Linked DNA regions of Homo sapiens: all the other regions are linked to region 2. The links are contacts of gene promoters, found by promoter capture Hi-C in human tissues and cell types (Jung and others, 2019). All regions are on one chromosome and are shown on one strand. Each heading gives the region's core, a stretch centred on a gene start or on the middle of the fragment in contact. The rest is flanking DNA. Distances are from core to core; before and after follow the strand shown. Region 1 overlaps SIAH3 (siah E3 ubiquitin protein ligase family member 3). Region 2 holds the start of SIAH3 (siah E3 ubiquitin protein ligase family member 3). Region 3 has its middle 34 kb from the start of SIAH3.

Region 1 (2,700 bases), core at 168-2,667, 46 kb after region 2:
CAGTGATGCTTCCAGAGTGTACCCACTAAAAATGTCAGTCTACTTGTTAAGGAAGTTTCTGTCTTTTACTATTAGTGTAACAGTTTTATTGAAATAAAATTCACATACCTTTAAATTTTTATTTATTTTCTTCAGCTTTTAAGTTTAGGGGGTAAATGTGCAGGTTTGTTACATGGGTAAATGACGTGTCACTAAGGCTTGGTATATGAATAATCCTGTCATCCAGGTAGTGAGCATAGCACGCAATAGATACTTTTTCAACCATTGTCTTCCTTCCACCCTCCCCACTCTCATAGTCCCCAATGTCTATTGGTGCCATCTTTATATGCGTGTGTACTCAATGTTTAGCTCCCTGTTGTAAGTGAGAACATGTGGTATTTGGTTTTCTGTTCCTGCATTACTTCGCTTAATATCATGGCCTCTAGCTCCATCCATGTTGCTGCAAAGGATATAATTCGATTCACTTTTATGGCTGTGTAGTATTCCATGGTGTATATGTACCACATTTTCTTTATCCAGTCCACCATTGATGGGGACCTGGGTTGATTCCATGTCTTTGCTATTGTGAGGAGTGCTGTGATGAAAATATGAGTGTGTTTATCTTTTTGGTAGAACAATGTCTTTTCCTTTGCATATATACTCCATAATGGAATTGCTGGGTCAAATGGTAGTTCTGTTTTAAATTATTTGAGAAATCTCCAAACTGCTTTCCACAGTGGCTGAACTAATTTACATTTCCACCAACAGTATATAAATGTTCCCTTTTCTTCACAACCTCATCAACATGTTATTTTTTGTCTTTTTAATAGCCATTCTGATGGGGACAAAATGGCATCTCATTGTGGTTTTGATTTGCATTTCTCTGATGATTAATGATGTTGAGGATTATTTCATATATTTGTATGTCACATGTATGTCTTCTTTTGAGAAGTGTCTGTCATGTCCTTTGCCCATTTTTAATGGGGTTATTTGGTTTTGCTTGTTGAATTAGGTTTCTTATAGATTCTGGACATTAGACTGTTGTCAGATGCATAGTTTGCAAATATTTTCTACCATTCTATAAATTGTCTGTTTAGCCTGTTAATAGTTTCTTTTGCTGTGCAGAAGCTCTTTAGTTTAATTAGGTCCTACTTGTCAATTTCTGTCTTTGTTGCAATTGCTTTTAGGGACTTAGTTATAAATTCTTTGCCAAGGCCACTGTCCAGAATGGTATATCCTAGTTTTCTTCTAAGATTTTTATAGTTTGAGGTCTTACATTTCAGTTTTTAATCCATCTTGAGTTAATTTTTATATATGGCGAAAGGTAGAGGTCCATTTTCATTCTTCTGCATATAGCTGGCTAATTATCCCAGCACAATTTATTGAATAGGGAGTCCTTTTCCCATTGCTTGTTATTGTCAACTTTATCAAAGATCAGATTATTGTAATTGTGCAGCTTTATTTTTGGGTTCTCTATCCTGTTCCATTGGTCTATGGTCTGTTTTTATACCAGTATCGTGCTGTTTTGGTTACTGTAGCTTTGTAGTATAGTTTGAAGTCAGGTAGTGTGATGCCTCCAACTTTCTTCTTTTTGCTTCATATTGCTTTGGCTATTCGCACTCTTTTTTGGTTCCATATAAATTTTAGAATAGTTTTTTTCTAATTCTGTGAACGGTAATGTTGATAGTTTGATAGGAATAGCATTGAATCTGTAGATGGCTTTGGGCAGTATGGCCATTTTGACAATATTGGGCATAGGAAGCTTTTTCATTTGCTTGTATCATCTATGATTTCTTTCAGCAGTGTTTTGTAGTTCTCCTTGTAGAGATCTTTCACTTACTTGGTTAGATGTATTCCAAAGTATTTTGTGTGTGTGTGTGTGTGTGTGTGTGTGTGTGTGTGTGTGTGTGTGTTATAAATGGGATTGAGTTCTTGATTTGACTCAGCTTGAACATTATTGGTGTATAAAATGCTACCAATTTTTGTACATTGATTTTGTATCCTAAAATTTTACTGAAGTCGTTTATCATCTCTAGGATCCTTTTGGTGGAGCCTTTAGGGTTTTCTAGGTATAGAATCATGTCATCAATGAAGGGAGATACTTGGACTACTTATTTTCCTGTTTGGATACCTTTTATTTCCTTCTCTTGCCTGATTGCTCTGGCTTGGACTTCCAATACTACGTTGAATAGGAATAGTGAGAGTGGCCATCCTTGTCGTGTTTCAGTTCTTAAGGAGAATGCTTCCAGCTTTTGCCCCTTTAGTATAATGTTGGCTGTGGGTTTGTCATAGATGGCTTTTAATATTTTGAGTTATCACATACCTTTTAAAGTGTATAATTCAATTGATTTTAGTATATTCACGGAGTTGCACAACCATTACCGCTATCTAATTTTAGAATGTTTTCAACACCCCAAAAGAAATCCCATATTTGTTAGCAACCACTCCACTCTACCCTCCCTCCAACCCTTGGCAACCCATCTTTTTTCTGTATCTGTGCATTTGCCTATTCTGGACAGTTCATGTAAATAGAATTATATAATATGTGATCTTTCGCCACTGGCTTCTTTGACTTAACATAATGTTTTCAAGGTTTATCTATGTTGTAGCATGTAGTAATAACAATATATTAATATTAAACACATTAATAGAATTAATAGTAATAACAAACTTGCCTAAATAATATATAGCTTTTATTTTTAAAAATATAATATGTATGCC
Region 2 (2,700 bases), core at 136-2,635:
TGTTGTTAGTTTAACTGCCTGACCAGGTCACAGACCTAGGTGTTCCACGTGTGCATATGTTTTGCATACATTACAACCCAAGCATTGTAGCCAGAGCAGAACAAGAGCCATGAGGGAGGGGGCTCACACTCACAGGGTACAATTCACAGTGGGGGCTGATCCTGCTCCAGGCAGCACTGGATCTGGCCTGACTTCTCAAGAGAGAAACAACCAGGGAAGAGGGAAAACACAATACACTGAACTCCCCTGCTTTAGCTGCAAAGACTAAACCATCAGAGCTAGTCCCGAAAAACCCAAAACCCTTCAAGTACTGCTTAGGAATCTTTCTTCAAGAACCAGCGGCCTCCCGCCCACCCACCAGCCCTGTTCTGGGGAGCAAGGACAGGTTTGCAGTCTGAGGACTGGAATGCCCTCTGCCTGTGCCAGCACAGAAATGTGCTGCTAGCATTTGCAGAAACAAGTAAATGATGTGGTATGTGCATCCTTAATCTCTATTTTAATGTCTCCAGCAATCTAGTGGTTAATTAGCAATTTGCTGCCCACCAATATGCAAATGAATGACAAGCAAAGGTTCTCTGCATCTGTAATTATTTTGCTGATTTACAAGCCTCTTTCCTCTCAGTGTAGGTTTTTCTGTGTGTGTGCATTCATGCATCAGGGATTTCATTATTTTTTGAAGCATACTCTGTGCATTTTTATCCTTTAATACTTTCAGACTTCAGTAATCACAGTATTTTGAAAAAAAGAAAATATATATATATGTATAGTAATATATATGTATGTGCTTCCCTCCACCCCTCAACTCCAAATGAATTTGTCAGGGATTCTTTTCTTTGATAAAGAGTGGAGAGTAAGATTTATCAAGGGGCTGTAATCCAAATTGCAGAAAGTCAGAACGCAAGATTGAAAGATACACATTTTTGCTGCTGCCAAGTCCTTATCTGGATTCAGAGTCTAGTAATATTTTATTTTCTCCCAAGCAGCTCTGGTGAGTCGAGCCATGATCTGCGTTATCCATCTGCCTACTTTGGAGCGGGGTGTTGTACTATTTGGCGGCTTAAACGCTTTACGTTCTTGCCAGGGCATTAAGAAAGGCTCTCATGTTAAATTAAGTCAATTAATAAATGGAGACACATTAAGCAATCAATTTTGTCAGCCTATCTCCCCAGCATTAGGTATGGTTGGCTGTAATCACAAGATAAATGCAATGTGCTGATCTATGGTAATGTTCAATAATACATTCTCCGCCAGGCTCAATTCATCAGGGAGTTTCGGTAGGGAAGGCATTTGTTATTGGCTGTCTCTGCACCTCAAGGATAACATTTCTGTCCTTTTGATTGGCCGCCTCACTGCTGCAAGATTCTAACCGTCTTATTTTGATGATGAATATGAAGGCGCGCTAAGCCGGGCTGGAGCGGAGTGTCTCAGAGGCTGCGCTCCTTCCAGGGCCCAAGGACTCACAGCTTCCTCCGCTGCCTTCCCGGACCAACAACCCCCCAAAAGTTGTGATGCTTTTCTTTACCCAGTGCTTTGGGGCTGTATTAGATCTCATTCATCTCCGGTTTCAGCACTACAAGGCTAAACGGGTTTTCTCCGCTGCCGGGCAACTTGTCTGTGTCGTCAACCCCACACACAACCTAAAGGTGAGTCTCTGTGTCATTTTACCTTCACCGGGCTCAGGTTCAAGTCCTTTCTCGGAGGCGGCAGCGACCCTCCGGCGAACGTGTGCAGCCCTTTGCAAACCCGGGTCTCGGGGGCTGGGACGGTGTCTGGAACCCGGCGTGTTTGCCTCGGCTCACTCTCGCTCTCTAGGTGATTGGGTGCTGTTAGTGACCGAGTGTTGTTTCCCCAGCTGGCAGGAAAAGCTGGATTGATGGTCTGATGTCTTTCCCCGACGCTGTCAACCTGAGAGTGGCGTGGGGGGCAGAAGTGAGGGTGGTGGAGGGAACAGGGGGGCGTCCCCATCACTCCCCCTACTATTTGTGGGCAAGTGCTCAGGAGACAGGATTTGAAGTTAGCCAAATTCTCTCTGTCCCATGTGTTGGGAGAGGTGGTCAAACACGAGGATTTTAGAAGCTACTGGGGGGTGAGGAATCCTGAAACAGGGACTTGGACGTCGGTGGGGTGGGGGGAGGGTTCTTTCTGCAAAGTGTTTGTCCTTGTCCTCAGACTCGTGTGTGTGTGTGTGTGTGTGTGTGTGTGTGTGTGTGTGTGTGTGGTGTCGGGAGGATTTTGGCTTATTTCCTTCCTGCTGGTTAGATGCGCTCTGTGTACTGGAGCAGGATTTGCCTGGCTTGTGTAATAATGACACCAGCTTCTAGCTGCTGCCGCCGCTGCCTGGAGCACCCTAGGCAGCTGGGTGCTGGGTTGCTCGCGGCTGCCTAGCTGCCCCGGGGCCTCTGCATTTGTACCCTCAGGTCAGTGCCCTTTTAGAGACCAGACAAAATATGGGGTCCGGCAGAGCCGCTTAACATCACAGCCAAGACTGACTGGGAAAGGAATGATGGGCCACTGGTTAGGGGTAGTAGGGAGGAGGGGAAGTCAGGGAGGTGGGGGCTGGGGAGAGGGTGCAGCTGAACTCCCCGGATGGGAAACTCAGCACCTTGCCTCTCTCCTAACATAAAAGATGGACTCATTGGAAGTTCCTTTCCTGTACTCCTGTGTAAGGCAGGCAGGACTGAGTGCCGGGGGAGGGGCCGT
Region 3 (2,700 bases), core at 119-2,618, 34 kb before region 2:
CTCGTCCAGCTTTTATCCATGAATAGTTTTCATGTACTTTTCTGCTTTAAAGCTCTCAATGATATTGAAATTATTGCCTCCATTTCTAGATTGTTGTCTGTCTCCTCCATTACATTATAGATTCTTTGAATGCCCATACAACTCTAGACATTAAACTGAAAATAATGCACTATGAGGAATAAAAATTAGATCTTAAAAAATTTATGTTTATTTTGGTGAAATTCACACAACATAAAATTAACCGTTTTAAATTGCACAATTCAGTGGCACTTAGTACCTTCACACTGCTGTGCAACCACCACCTCTAGCCAGCTCCAAAACATTTTCATTGCGCCAAGAAGAAATTCCATACCTATTAAGCAGTCATTATCTATACTGCCCTCCTCCCAGCCCCTGTGTTCTGTCTCTACAGATTTACCTATTTTGGATATAAGGGGAATCTTTAATATGTGACTGCTTTGGTTTGGATATGGTTTGTTTCCACCAAAACTTATGTTGAAATTTGATCCCCAATGTGACAGTGTTGGGAAGTAGGGCCTAGTGGGAGGTGTTTGGGTCATGGGGGTGGATCCCTCAGGAATGGCTTGGTGCCATTCTCGCGCAGTACTTAGTTCTCATTCTCAAGAGACTGGTTTTATTCTCTGGGAATGAATTCGTCCTGCAAGAGTGGATTGTTATAAAGTGAGATTCCTCCTCCCATTTTGTGCCTCTTTGCATGTGTCTGCTTCCCTTTAACCTTCTCCACCACGTTATGACAGCACAGAAGCCCTCAGCAGATGCCAGCACCATGCCTGGAACTTCCCAGTTTGCAGAACCATGAGCTAAATGAAACCTTTTTTCTCTCTCTTTTTTTTTTTTTTTTTTTTGAGAGAGTCTCACTCCATCACCCAGGCTGGAGTACAGTGGCGTGATCTCAGCTCACGGCAACCTCCTCCTCCTGGGTTCAAGTGATTCTCCTGCCTCAGCCTCCCGAGTAGCTGAGATTACAGGTGCATGCCACCACGCCTGGCTAATTTTTGTATTTGTTAGTAGCAATGGGGTTTTGCCATGTGGGCTAGGTTGGTCTTGAACTCTTGGCCTCAAGTGATCCACCCAGAGTGCTGGGATTACAGGTGCCCAGTCTAAACCTCTTTTCTTTATGAATTACCCAGTCTCAGGTATTATGTTATAGCAACACAAAACAGACTAAGATAGTGATCTTTTGTGATTGACTTCCTTCATTTAGCATATGTTTTCAAGCTTCATTCACGTTGTAATGTGTATCAGGACATCATCCTTTTTTATAGCTGAGTAATATTCTGGTGTGTGTGTGTGTGTGTTTGTGTGTGTGTGTGCACGCGCACACACCACATTTTGTTTAATGATTCATTTGCTGATGGCCACTTGGATTGTTTCCAGCTTTTGGCTATGATGAATACTGTCATTATGGACATTCATGGGGAGCTGGGTCTTGTTCACCATTGCAGTCTTACGGCAGTAGGCCTGCAATCACTATTTATTAAATAGTTGGGTGGATGCTCAAAAAATGCCTGTAAAAAATGCCAGTGCAATAGATTTTAAGCTCCAAGTTTAAAAGGTGATGTTGCCTCTTCTCCTCTAGCCCCAAGGAAAACAGCTCACACTGTTTTGGTGCTTGACAAATGTTATTGGTGTTGACAGTGTTGATAATATAGGCAATAATAATGAAGGAGAAACCAAGAATGATGTTTCTTCTAGAATTGGTTCTGGTAGTAGCATTGCATTTCATAGAATCATAGGTGAATTTATGATCATAAAATTGGATAATTTAAAGACAAATGGCTTGTGTTTTAGATGTTCCTCAGCTCCTGCAGAAATCCAGAAAAGGTTAATCTTGTGTGGATTAGAATCCAAACAAGAATTATGATATTGGAAAAGAGCTTCACATCATCCCCACTTCTGCATAAGGGAGCATTAGAATTGCAGCACGCAGAGCAGGGCTGCTGCATGCTGGGCTCTAGAATCACCAAGATTCCAGCCTACTGAGAGATGACAGGTGACAGGCTTTCCTCTTTGGAGGAAAGGCAGCAAGCAGACCTGGAGTCAAAGAGAAGAAGCTGTGAACGGAATACTGACAGACCCTGAGGAAAGAGCCACGCGGTGGCAAATCAAAGCAAATCGCATTGTAGGAAGAAAAATCAGTCATGTAATGGCCTTTTCAGTGACACCTGAACAAATTGTTAGTAAGTATTTTCAAGGTATTCATGTGAATATAAAGTATATCCTAGTTTATGACACATTTTGAAGTATAATGAATTGCACAGTAATGTTGTTAGAGTCCTGCTCTAAAGTTGTGTGGGATGGAGAGCTTGAAACAATCAGTGATCCTACATTGATTCACTTATTCACTCATTCATCAAACACTTATAGAGTAATTACTATGTACAAGGATCTGTAGTATGGATGACTGGGTGGAGCTCATGGTCAATGGTGAGATACAATTTGGTCTTGAAGACAGAATAGAAATTTACCTGGATGGGCATGGACTGAGGAGAGGAAGGCATAGGACTGAAAATCAAACTCAGTGAAGATGGAAAGATATGACATAGGGACAAGGTTATTTTAAACTGCAGATAACGCAATTATTAATTTTAAATTATTTGTGATGCTCTATAGCTGGGCAATATTCAAAGAAAATGATTTTGGAGTAAAATATCTTACTTGTAATTTATTAAACAATGT

The links. The method cuts DNA at HindIII sites, captures the fragments that hold promoters and counts their contacts. A contact is called where the count stands out against the background at its distance.
Region 1: a contact is called between a fragment that was not itself captured here and the fragment with the promoter of SIAH3 in region 2, in 1 of the 25 tissues and cell types used here (hippocampus).
Region 3: a contact is called between a fragment that was not itself captured here and the fragment with the promoter of SIAH3 in region 2, in 2 of the 25 tissues and cell types used here (bladder and neural progenitor cells).

The regions. Positions count from the first base shown.
Region 1 is chr13:45,804,156-45,806,855 of GRCh38, reverse strand. The region is part of intron 1 of SIAH3 (siah E3 ubiquitin protein ligase family member 3); the gene reads left to right. Among named protein-coding and RNA genes, the nearest start is that of SIAH3, 46 kb to the left of the region's middle. The HindIII fragment of the contact is 4,222 bases long and covers 1-2,700 here.
Region 2 is chr13:45,850,438-45,853,137 of GRCh38, reverse strand. It overlaps SIAH3 (siah E3 ubiquitin protein ligase family member 3), which reads left to right and starts at 1,385. Exons shown (of 2, transcript NM_198849.3): 1 at 1,385-1,643. The coding sequence starts at 1,509. RefSeq lists an enhancer at 2,276-2,700. The HindIII fragment of the contact is 6,525 bases long and covers 1-2,700 here.
Region 3 is chr13:45,884,740-45,887,439 of GRCh38, reverse strand. No RefSeq gene overlaps it. Among named protein-coding and RNA genes, the nearest start is that of SIAH3, 34 kb to the right of the region's middle. The HindIII fragment of the contact is 4,275 bases long and covers 1-2,700 here.